Linked DNA regions of Homo sapiens: region 1 is linked to region 2. The links are contacts of gene promoters, found by promoter capture Hi-C in human tissues and cell types (Jung and others, 2019). All regions are on one chromosome and are shown on one strand. Each heading gives the region's core, a stretch centred on a gene start or on the middle of the fragment in contact. The rest is flanking DNA. Distances are from core to core; before and after follow the strand shown. Region 1 overlaps ARHGAP35 (Rho GTPase activating protein 35). Region 2 holds the start of PTGIR (prostaglandin I2 receptor).

What was found. Contacts are between HindIII fragments. The study calls those that stand out against the background at their distance.
Region 1: a contact is called between a fragment that was not itself captured here and the fragment with the promoter of PTGIR in region 2, in 3 of the 25 tissues and cell types used here (IMR-90 fibroblasts, dorsolateral prefrontal cortex and lymphoblastoid cells).

The regions. Positions count from the first base shown.
Region 1 is chr19:46,965,821-46,971,343 of GRCh38, forward strand. The region is part of intron 3 of ARHGAP35 (Rho GTPase activating protein 35); the gene reads left to right. Among named protein-coding and RNA genes, the nearest start is that of NPAS1, 51 kb to the right of the region's middle. The HindIII fragment of the contact is 4,877 bases long and covers 18-4,894 here.
Region 2 is chr19:46,621,767-46,627,689 of GRCh38, forward strand. It overlaps PTGIR (prostaglandin I2 receptor), which reads right to left and starts at 3,323. Exons shown (of 3, transcript NM_000960.4): 1 at 3,231-3,323; 2 at 1,692-2,471. The coding sequence starts at 2,459. RefSeq lists an enhancer at 3,538-4,038. The HindIII fragment of the contact is 28,599 bases long and covers 1-5,923 here.

The sequences.
Region 1 (5,523 bases), core at 1,206-3,705, 340 kb after region 2:
TAATTGCTGTCTTTGCCAGAATATTCTTTAGCCTCACAATGTTTAGTTTTTACAATCCTAAAAGAATAATTGAACACCTGTTATGTGTCAGTTCCATTAGATGCTGGAGGCTAAAATATGAATAAGATAGTTCATATTGCCCCCTAGAAGGACTCTTAGTCTTCTCTGGTCAAAACCAAGTCAATAAAGGAAGTATTAGTTGGAAACCCTCAGTCTCCCCAGCCTCAATACCTAGCTTCACTTGTACATCCAGCAGCCCCTGGGGTCTACTTTGCAACCTTCCAGTTTGCCATATGTGATATTTTCTATTGGATCTTTTAAAGATATTTTTGGTATTTTTTTCTTTCTTTGCAAAATATTTATACGATTTTTGGTATTATTTTATTTAGTGCATTTTAACCATTCCATTGAGATTTTTATTTTATTTATATACAAAATGCAATTGAGGCCAGGCGCAGTGGCTCATGCCTGTAATCCCAACACTTTGGGAAGCTGAAGCAGGAGGATTGCTTGAACCCAGGAATTCAAGACCAGCCCCAGCAACATATCGAGACTCTGTCTCTACAAAAAATTAGAAAATTAATCAGGTGTGCTGGTGCATACCTGTAGTCCTGGCTGATTGGGAGACTGAGGCAGGAGAATCACTTGAGCGTGGGAGGTTGAAGCCATGGTGAGCCATGGTTGCACCACTGTACTCCAGCCTGAGTAACAAAGCAAGACCCTGTCCCCCACCCCCAAAAAATGCAATTGAACATCTTTGTAATGTATGGTCCTTCATTTCAAAGTCATGACACCTCTCTGCTTTTTTTCCTCTTCTCTTTTTTCTTGTGTAGTCATTACAGTTGTTTGTCTTACTTTCTAGGGTTGATGGGATGGAGTGAGTGTAATAAGTTAGTCTATAATAATATTTCTGGCCTATCAAGTACAAGGCATTTTTGAAGCCAAGAAGATCCTGAGGAAGCCTGAGGCCAGCCCCCATTGGAGATGACTACACACATCAAAGAGAAAATTAATATCTCTCCACAGTCAGTTTGCCCAGTGCCCATGAGGCTGCAGGGGTTAGTGCTGCAGAAGTCAGGGAGCTTGCTTGCTTGGAGTCTGGGATGGAGGCTTGTCCTTAAAGATACACTGGATTCTCTAACAGGATGGGAGGAATAGTCTAGGTGTGGAAAGTCAACTGAATGAGAGTCAGGTGTAGAGGTGAGAGGCCGTGCTGACCACGTAGCCATATTGCCCTAAAATCCTTTGAACGTCAGCCTCCAGCAATTGGACTTGGCCTGGGCTTTTCAGATTTTTTTTTTTTTTCTCAGATCCCTAGAATTGTAAGGGAGTCCTTCTGCATGGGGACGGGAAAGGTCAGGCCACCAGGACTCTGGATCCTTCAGCCTTAAGGTTCAGTTTAAGATTTCATTTGGAAGAAGGATTTTCTCACTCCTGAGAAAGCTTGTCAGCCCTCACCGTTACCATTTGCGGGAAGGTAGGGTTTGAAGGTTTTCATCCCAGAGAATCTGCTGACCTGAGTCAACAGCATGTCCTCCATGGGGAGGGGGTCTCTCCCTTGTTACCTTCCCACACCAGTCAACCTCATCAGTCAGTCCCATTGTTTTTACCACCTAAGCGTGTTTTCAGCCTGGCCCCTGCCCCTGCGTTTAGTCTCTCACCCTCTTCTTGGTTTACTGTGGTAGCCTCTTTGTAATTGACCTTCCTGTTTCTGGTCTCATGTCCTTTCAGTCCCTTATGCACACTGCTGCAAATATCTTTCCAAAATAAATGGGATCACTTCATCTTCACCTGCTTAAAACTCATCAGTGGTTCTGTATCACTCTAGGATGAAGTTTCATCCTACTACTTACCAGCAGGATGTGGTCCCTGCCCACTGTCTAGCTCTGCCTCTTGCCATTTCCTTCATTCACTCTAAACTTCAGCCCACAGATTAAAACTACGCACAGTTCCTTAAGCTGCCATTATATTTCTCACCCGCACTGCCTTTCCTTGCTGTTCCACTTCGAGACTCCCTCCCAGAGTCCTTCTCTGATCTGCTCTGTGAGCCAGGGCTCCCTGCCGTGTCTGTCACGCCCGGAGTCCTTCTCTGACCTGCTCTGTGAGCCAGGGCTCCCTGCCATGTCTGTCACGCCCTGTGCTTTCCCAGTGAACACGTAGCACACTGTACTCTGATTGTCTTCCTTCCTCAATGGATCCTAAGTTCCTTGAGGGAAGGGACCGGGTCATCTTCATTGTCTCCTCCAAGCCAAGCATACAGGGCTCTAGTAAATGATGATGAATGACTGAATGGCACAGAAACACTCCAGAGACCTCTCCCCTCAAAAGCTTCATTCAGTGGTGGAAACGTGGAATTGTATACATAGAAAGGGAGGAGGAAGAAGATTCATATAACACTAAGGTCTTGAGCAAGGTGGCAGTATCTGGGCAGGAGCAAATGCCCAGTGTTTAGTGTAGGGGCACAGCATGTGTGTTGCTGATAGGGCATGCGTGTGAAACATTTAGGTGGGATATCTAAATAAATGGGCTTGGACAGAAGGAGCTGTGGGTCAGCAGAGCAGGAGGGAAGAAAGCAAGGGAATCCACCGGCAAGGCTAATGGGAAGCCTGCTGTCCCTCGGCTGGAGGCCAGCCACAAAGTGTCACACACATCCTTCCTGAGTTTGGGGAAATATCTGTAGGTCACTTCAGAATTTGGGTTCAAAATAATATGGAGGCCACATTATTCATAATAGCCCCAAAATGGTAAGAACCCAAATATCCCACTGATGAGTGAATGGATAACGAGATATAATATATTCATACAGTAGAATATTATTCGGCCGTAAAAAGGAACAAAGTAGTGACGTGCTACAGATGGATGAACCTTGAAAACATTACGCTAAGTGAGGTAAACTAGTCACACAAGATCACATGGCCCATGATCTCATTTACACAGAATTATCTAGAATAGGCTAATCTATAAAGATAGAAAGTAGATTAGTGGGCCGGGTGCAGTGGCTCACACCTGTAATCCCAGCACTTTGGGAGGCCAAGGCAGGCAGATCATCTCAGGTCGGGAGTTCAAGACCATCCTGGCCAACATGATGAAACCCTGTCTCTACTAAAAATACAAAAATTAGCCGGGCGTAGTGGTGTGTGCCTGTAATCCCAGCTATTCAGGAGACTGAGGCGGAAGAATCTCTTGAACCTGGAAGGCAGAGGTTGCAGTGAGCCAAGGTTGCACCACTGCACTCCAGCCTGGGCCAGAGAGCAGGACTGTCTCAAAAAAAAAATAGAAAGAAGTAGATGAGTGGTTGCCAGGGGCTGCGAGAAGGGAGAAATTTGGAGTGGCTGCTCATGGATACAGTTTTTTGGGTGTTGATGACAGTGCTCTAAAATTGTGGTGATACTTGTGCAACTCTGAATGTGCTCACAGCCATCGAATTGGACACTCTCACAGTGGGTGAATTGTATGTTGTGTGAATTATATCTCAATAAAACGGTTGTGAAATAATAATCATAATAAACGGAGGATAGGTGGATAGATGTTTTACTCCAGGTTTGCTACTTAAAATTTTTCACTGAGTCTGCAGTGGCCTGTGTTCTTTTTGAGGTGGGTCCTTGGAGAAGAGACCTGCTCTGACAAAGCTTCCTCACTGCCTGGTGGTTTCTCCTGTCTGGCACATACACTCTGTCGGACTGCTTGAGGCACTGCTCCACTCTCAGGAGCAACCAGGGATGGGAGACAGCACTAGTGTCTTCGGTGAACGTCTGCATCCAGCCCGCGTGAGCTGCGACACACAGACCCTTAGAGAGCACTTGCCTCCTGCAGAGGTCTAGGGGCAGAGGGTTGGACCAGTCCTGCCCTCAATAACCACTCAGCGACTTGTTTTCTGTGGGGTGTCATCAGCTCAGAGAAGCAACACGTCTTTCCTAGGTTCTCTGAAGGAGATCTACTCATGCCATTGTTGGATCTGTCTGCTACAAGTGTTACTGGGCTGGATTCGAGGACTTTGTTTTTCCATCTGCCCTCTGTATTTTCCTAGGAATGCTTCTGTGAATACCCCCCTCCCACCTGCCAAGGCAAGTGAGGCAGCAGCACCAGGAGAGCTGGACCCCTGCACACACCACCACTGCCACCACGCTGCCTTTGCTCCGCTGCCTGGCTTCTCTGTTTCCCCTACTGAACTGTGAGGAATTGGGGCAAAGACTGCCTCTTCTTTCCATTACCTGTGACCCATAGTAGGCACTCGGGTATCTATTGAAGGAATTAGTGAATTTTTCTTTCCACGGATTGAATTAGATTGGGACAAAGAAAGAAAGTCATGGGGTGCAGGGTGAATTCTTGGGGCTTGATCACTTCAAGATCTCATCTTGGCTTAAGTCTGTCAACATTTTTCTTTTTCCTTACCCAGCCCTAAGCTATTTCCATTGGCAATATATTGCACACAAGCTGTGTTTCACTTCTTAATGCTATGGGATATTGCTGCTACAAGAGCCATCCTTGGTGTTTGCAGAAATATTTGTGATTTGAGGAACCCAGTGCAGTGTAGAGCAGGTAATGTGGGGGAGAGCAAACTCACACCCCTGCAGTCTCTAACTTGAAGGACTGTGCAAGCAGGCATGTTCCTTACGTAGGGGTGCTTAACCTAAGGTCTGTGGATAGGCTATGGAAGTCTGAACTCCTCAACATTACTGCGGAAATTTTGTGTGTGTGCACACACACCCAGGTGTACACTTGCCCTGTGGATGGTGCAGAGTCTATACCCTTCATCAGGAGATCAGAGTGAGGGGCGTCTCCTCCCCTGAAAAAGTTAGAGATCACTGTTCATTCACAGCGTTTGTGGAAACTATACCACTGATCGAGAGCAAGCCAGGACGATGATGCAGCCTTGTTCTCAAGGGATTTATAATCTAGTAAGGGTGAAGATTTCACCCTAAACCATGTAGAGCCTACAAAAGGAGGTCAGGGAGGCCAGGGAGGGCTGGGAGGTAGAGTTGTTGGGACTTAAAGGATGACTCGAAGTGGAATGATTGAGCCTAGATCAAATCATTTTCTCTTCACAGCTCTCCGTGACAGGAGACTGCATAGCTTCCCTGTGAGTCCATGGGCCCCAAAGTGATTATAACTGACCTCTAGCTTGACTGTGCCCATCCCCTGCCATTGGATCCTCTCCAAAACAGACAGTCATTGTCACGTATACTCACACGACACACAGGGAAAATAGCAACCAACAAACTGTTTCCATGTGTTAGAGTGGTAGAACCTGGCTCCATTTCCAGTGTCTCACCTCCATGTGTATGAACTAAAAATAGGCAAACTTGGCTGGGCGCGGTGACTGACGCCTATAATGCCAGCACTTTGGGAGGCCGAGGCAGGCAGATCACGAGGTCAGGAGTTCAAGACCAGCCTGGCCAATATGGTGAAACCCCATCTCTACTAAAAATACAAAAATTAGCCGGGCGTGGTGGCGTGCGTCTGTAGTCCCAGCTACTCGGGAGGTGGAGGCAGGAGAATCGCTTGAACCCGGGAGGCAGAGGT
Region 2 (5,923 bases), core at 2,073-4,572:
GGGGTGACATGTCAGAGGGGAAGGAGATAAGATAAAGACTAAGTAACAAATGTATCTGGGGAACACAGGGAGAGAAAGCCCCAGGAAATTGCCAGAGATGCCTAAGGGGAGAGGGATGGGGGCCAGGTATGTGGGTCCCCCCACCCTTGGAAGCTGGGAGGACCCTCGGGCTCCACAGATTTTTGAGTATAACGTCCCTGCAAGAAGGTGGCGCCACCCGGCTGGGCCCCCTGAAACTGCCGCAGAGCTGCGGTGGTGCCTGTGTGTATCTGTCCACGGCATCTGAGTCTCTGAGTCAGAGTAACCCCCAAAAAAGATTTAAGGACCCCCCAATCCGGCCTGGCCTCTTGCATTTTACAGAAACAGAAACTGAAGCTCAGAAGAAAGGTGGCACGACCAGGTGTCACAGACACTGAGTGGGTACCAGGGTCTGTGCCACTCCCATTGGGGAGGGGCAGGACGGGGTCCCCGCAGGAAACCGAGGTGCAGAGGCAAGGGTGGGGCCTGCTCTGAGGCAGAGGGGAGCCAGGTAGGTGGGAGATCAGGCTCTACAATGGAAGGACCCAGGACCAGGACCTGGCTCTGTGTGACTGGGCGAAAGACACTGCCCCTCATCTGTAAAAACGGGGATGGGAGAGAACGTTCTCTTGGTTTCCTGCCAAATACTGTGGAATGGGTGGCTATGATCATTTTGAAAATTATCTTAGGAAGTATCTGTAAGCCACTAAGCACGGGGCGGGCATAGAGAAGTGCTCAATGAGTGGTGGTCTTGTCATTACAGGGGTGGGGAAGGATGGGGGATGCATTTCATCATGGGGGGCTCAGGATGCCTAAGCTGGGAGACAAGGTATCAGAAGAAGTCAGATGCAGAAAGACCCCTCCAGAAAGCCAGGAGCTGTCTGACTGAGGACCAAGCCTCTGTCTGATTTGTTTTTGTTTTCTTTGTTTTTGTTTTGAGACAAGGTCTTGCTCTGTCAGCTAGGCTGGGATGCAGTGGTATAATCACAGCTCACTGCAGCCTCAACCTCCCAGGCCGGAGCAATCCTCCCACCTCAGCCTCACAAGTAGCTGAGACCACAGGCACAGGCCATCATGCCAGGCTAATTTTTAAATGTTTCATAGAGATGGGGTTTCACCATGTTGCCCAGGCTGGTCTCAAACCTCTGGGCTCAAGTGATCGTCCTGCCTCGCCTTTCTTTTTCTTTTTTTTCTTATTTTTTTTTTTTTTTTTTTGGGACGGGGTCTCACTCTGTCACCCAGGCTATAGTGCAGTGGCACGATCTCAGCTCACTGCAACCTCCGCCTCCGGGGTTCAAGCGATTCTCCTGGCTCAGCCTCCCAAGTAGCTGGGACTTCAGGCATGTGCCACTACGTCCGGCTACTTTTTATTTATTTATTTGTTGTATTTTTAGTAGAGACAGGGTTTCATCATGTTGGCCAGACTGGTCTCGAACTCCTGACCTCAAATGATCCGCCGGCCTCGGCCTCCCAAAGTGCTGGGATTACAGGTGTGAGCCACCGCATCCGGTCCTGCCTCGGCCTTTCTACATGCTGGGATTACAGGCGTGAGCCACCATGCCCACGATGTCTCACCTCTTTTGAGCCTCAGTCTCCCCATCTGTGACATGGGCACAACCCACAGAGCTGCCCTCCTCCTCTCCCCACTCCTCCCAGCTCCGGAGGGGACTCACCGTGAGAGGCAGGGAGCACACGGCCATGACCACTGTCATGAGGGCCAGCAGGATCAGGTGGTCCACCTCGTCCTCTCCGGTGCGCGGCCGTGGACCCAGAGAGCCCTGGTGGCGCTTCTGCTGGCGGTACATGCGGCAGAGGCTGAGGGTGACCGAGCCGTTGCAGAGGAAGATGGCAGCCACCAGCAGGGCCACCAGGCCGGCGTAGGCCAGCGAGAAGGCGGCGCCGCCCGGCTGGGCCCAGCGCATGCGGAGGAAGCACCAGCTGCCGGGGCAGTACTGCTGGTGTTGGCCCAGGCCCAGCAGGGGCAGCGCGCAGAAGAGGACGCAGAAGGCGTAGATGGCTGGCAGCGCCAGGCGGGCGCAGCGGGGCCCGTCCAGCTGCGCGTAGAGGTAGGGGTGGCTCAGCGCCAGGCAGCGCTCCACGGCCATGGCAAAGAGGATGAGCATGGACGCCAGGCCGAAGAAGGTCATGGCGAAGGCGAAGGCATCGCACAGGGCGGGGCCGCCTCGGGCCAGGCCCAGCAGGGAGCTGTTGCGCGCATAGGCCACGAACACGGCCGGGCTCAGGAAGCTGGTGCCCAGCAGGTCGGTGGCCGCCAGTCCGGTCACCAGCACCGCGAAGGCCGAGGGGCGCGCCGGTCGCCGTGCGCTCAGGATGCCCAGGGCCAGCCCGTTGCCCACCACACCGGCCACGAACATCAGGGTGCTGGTGGCCGGCCCCACCGAGCCCCGCACGTAGGTGAGGTTCCTGCACGAATCCGCCATCCCAGGTCTGGGCTGGAGGGTTCCCAAGGTGGGGGGTCAGAGGGAGCCAGGGCTACCCCCACCACCCAGCCCACTCAGATGTCCCTGCTGGCCAGTCCTTTTGGCAGCTGGGGCCTCCCAGCCAACCCCCAGTTCTCCTGTGTGTGCGGGTATGCAGTCCTCTCCCCTCTGGCTTCTCCAGTATCTCTCTCTGTCTCTCCCCACCTTCCTGTTTCTCTTTCTCTCTTTCTTTTCTTTCGTTTCTTTTGAGACAGAGTCTCACTCTGTTGTCCAGGATGGAGAGCAATGGCATGATCTCGGCTCACTGCAACCTCCACCTCCTGGGTTCAAGCGATTCTCCTGCCCCAGCCTCTGGAGTAGATGAGATTACAGGCGTCCACTACCACGCCCAGCTAATTTTTGTATTTTCAGTAGAGACGGGGTTCCACCATGTTGGTCAGGCTGGTCTCGAACTCCTGACCTCAGGTGATCCATCCACCTTGGCTTCCCAAAGTGCTGAGATTACAGGTGTGAGCCACCATGCCTGACACCCACCACCCCCCCACCACCTCCTGTTTCTTTCCTTCTCTAGCTCTGTTTCTGCCATTAAAGAGACAGAGAACATCCGGGCATTGCCAGTTCTTTCCCTCCCTGTCTCTCGGTCTCTTGCTGATATCTCCCTGTCTCTGTCCCCTCCCTTGTCCTTGTCCTCCCCGTACCTTTCTCCCTCTAACCCCACACCCTCTACCTGCTCCTGCTCTGTGTTGCTGCATCCCCAGCCCCTCACCGCACCTCTCCAGTCTTGCCCAGGCTCTCCTGTCCCGTGCGTCTGTGCCTTCACTTGCTTTGCTCCTCGTGTCTCTCGCTGCCTGTGTCGGTCTGTGTGTCAGCTTCTCCTTCCCTCCTCCCTCCGTCCCTCCCTCCTTCCCACCCTCCTCAGCTTGCCTGCTCACCCCAGCTTTTTCATTTCCTCTCTCTGCCCCGCCCTCCCTCACTGTTCTCCAGAGGGCCCCCTGGCACACTCCCCACTCCCCGTCCACCCGCCCAATCCAGGACATCCATCTCCCATCGCTGCCTCCACTCTCCTCCCCACATCCTCTCTTGGTTCCCATCACTGAGCCACCTGCCACCTCCCCACACACAGGTCTCCTCCCTCCCCCAGTGTCTCCCTCTCTGGCCTGGGTGGGGAATTCCTGAGTCACCATCACTTAGGCTTGGAGCCTCCCGGGGTAGTAGGGGGCCTCTAGGAGGGACCTGAAGAGCACAGTTGACCAGGCTTCAGTGGGGTGGTCTTGGCCTGGGCTGTCTCAGGGTGGCCTCTGGGATCTATTCTGGGCTCCAGGCCCCGGGGCTGAGGACATTGCCCAGGGATTGAGAAATGACCAGGAAATTCCTCTCTGATGTAGTGTTTTCCAGACACCACTGAGAGTTCTGGTCCCTGGACACAATTCACTCCTTCCAGAAAGCTGAGGAAGGAGGCTTGGCCAGAGAGAGACATGCCAGTCCCTCGAGCCTGTCCCTGGGCACCCAGCTCACCCTGCAGAGACCCGAGAAGAAAGCATGAAGGGGTGTATTTGGTGTCCAGTTGTCAGGGACAGGCTTGGGAGACTTCCATGGCCCATGATGGAAAGGTAGCACTGGGCCACCGTCCGACTTCTCGCACAGCACCCCTAGGCCCCAGGCCAAGCTCTGGTGACCTTGACCTTCAGGAATCATATTTTGATCACAGGAAGCTGTCCACAGCTCCAACATTGCTGCCATGTGTCCCCCACCCTCCCCAAACACAGCCAAGCCACCACCGCTGCAGCCTCGGGCCAGTGTGACAGACCCACATGTTCCCGCTACCCGCACAGCGTTCACGGGTCTCCCTTCCCACGGAGTCGGTGGCTTCCCAGGCAGCCTCCCAGCCCAAAAGGGCCAGATAAAACCTCAGAGACCCTCTCTGAGCCCCGCTGTTTCTCAGGGGGACGGTCTCAGATCCATTCGACTTGGCTTCCTGTTTCCATCTGACCACCTTTTTTCTTGCTGCGAGATGGTCCCAGGTGAGGAGAGGGAGCTGGTAGACTTCAGCCTCCTTCTCTGTGCGTGGGGTAACACGGGCCTCAGGGACCTGGTGGCCAGCCTCGGCCTGCAGCACATCCCAGATTGGTCTTTGTAACAAGGAGAGAGGCTGTGCGGGTGTCTCTTGTCCAAGGCCAGGAGGGATGTGTCCAACCCAAGGACTGGACTGTGGGCAGCTGCCGTCTTGCCCTCTGTACCCCGGTGTGTGACCACAACCCCTTTGCCCCTCCCCCCCATCTCCCTATCACCCTTGCCCAGCTGGCACCCGCAGCTTCCAGCAGGATGGACGCCCAAGTTCCAGCCCCACCGTGGCTCCCTAAGGGACCCCCCAGCCCTGCTCTGGGGGTGCCTGTACATGTGGGCTCCAGGTCCTGCCACGTTGTCCCGCCTCATGCCGTGAGGTCCCCAGACAGACCAGAGGGAACTCAGGAAGTTATATCATATTAATGAAGGATGATGCCTGGCAGGCGTGCATCTTGTTTCGGCATCGGGGGGGCCTCTGGTTCCCGGAGACTCCCTCTCTCGCTTCCTGTTACAAGGACGGTTAACATTCAGGAAGTCCCCTCTGCTCCCATGCCCAGTGGGACCACAGTCAAACCCTTGTCCCTTCCAGGCCTCAGTTTCTTTTTTGTTGTTGTTTTTCTTTTTGCTTGTTTGTTTTTGTTTTGAGATGGAATCTTGCTCTGTCACCCAGGCTGGAGTACACTGGCATGATCTCAGCTCACTGCAACCTCCGCCTCCCGGGTTCAAGCGACTCTCGTGCCTCAGCCTCCCGAGTAGCTGGGATTACAGGCATGTGCCACTGCGCCCAATTTTTATATTTTTAGTAGAGGTGGGGTTTCACCATGTTGGCCAGGCTGGTCTTGAACGCCTGACCTCAGGTGATCCGCCCGCCTCGGCCTCCCATAGTGCTGGGATTACAGGCGTGAACCACCTTGCCTGGCTGTTCGTTTGTTTTTGAGACAGGGTCTTGCTCTGTCACCCAGGCTGGAGTGTAGTGCTGCAATCTCGGTTCACTGCAACCTCTACCTCTGGGGTTCAAGCGATCCTCCCACCTCAGCCTCCTGAGTAGCTGGGACTACAGGCACCCACTGCCACGCTAGCTAATTTTTGTATTTTTGTAAAGACAGGGTTTCACTGTGTCACCCAGGCTGGTCTCAAACTCCTGGACTCAAGTGATCTGCCTACCTCGGCTTCCCAAAGTGCTGGGATTATAGGCCACCACGCCTGGCCTCAGGCCTCAGTTTCCCCGCCGATGCCACTAGGAGTCATGAGCCCTCGCAACCCCAGGATCGGTTCTGTGTTCCTGCATCAGGAGCAGGTAGGGGTGGCAGTGACTGTGACTCCCTCCTAATGAGGGGACTGAGTTCCCCAGAGTCCGTACTGGCGCCAGACATGCCTCAGTCACCTTGCCCTGAAACCCA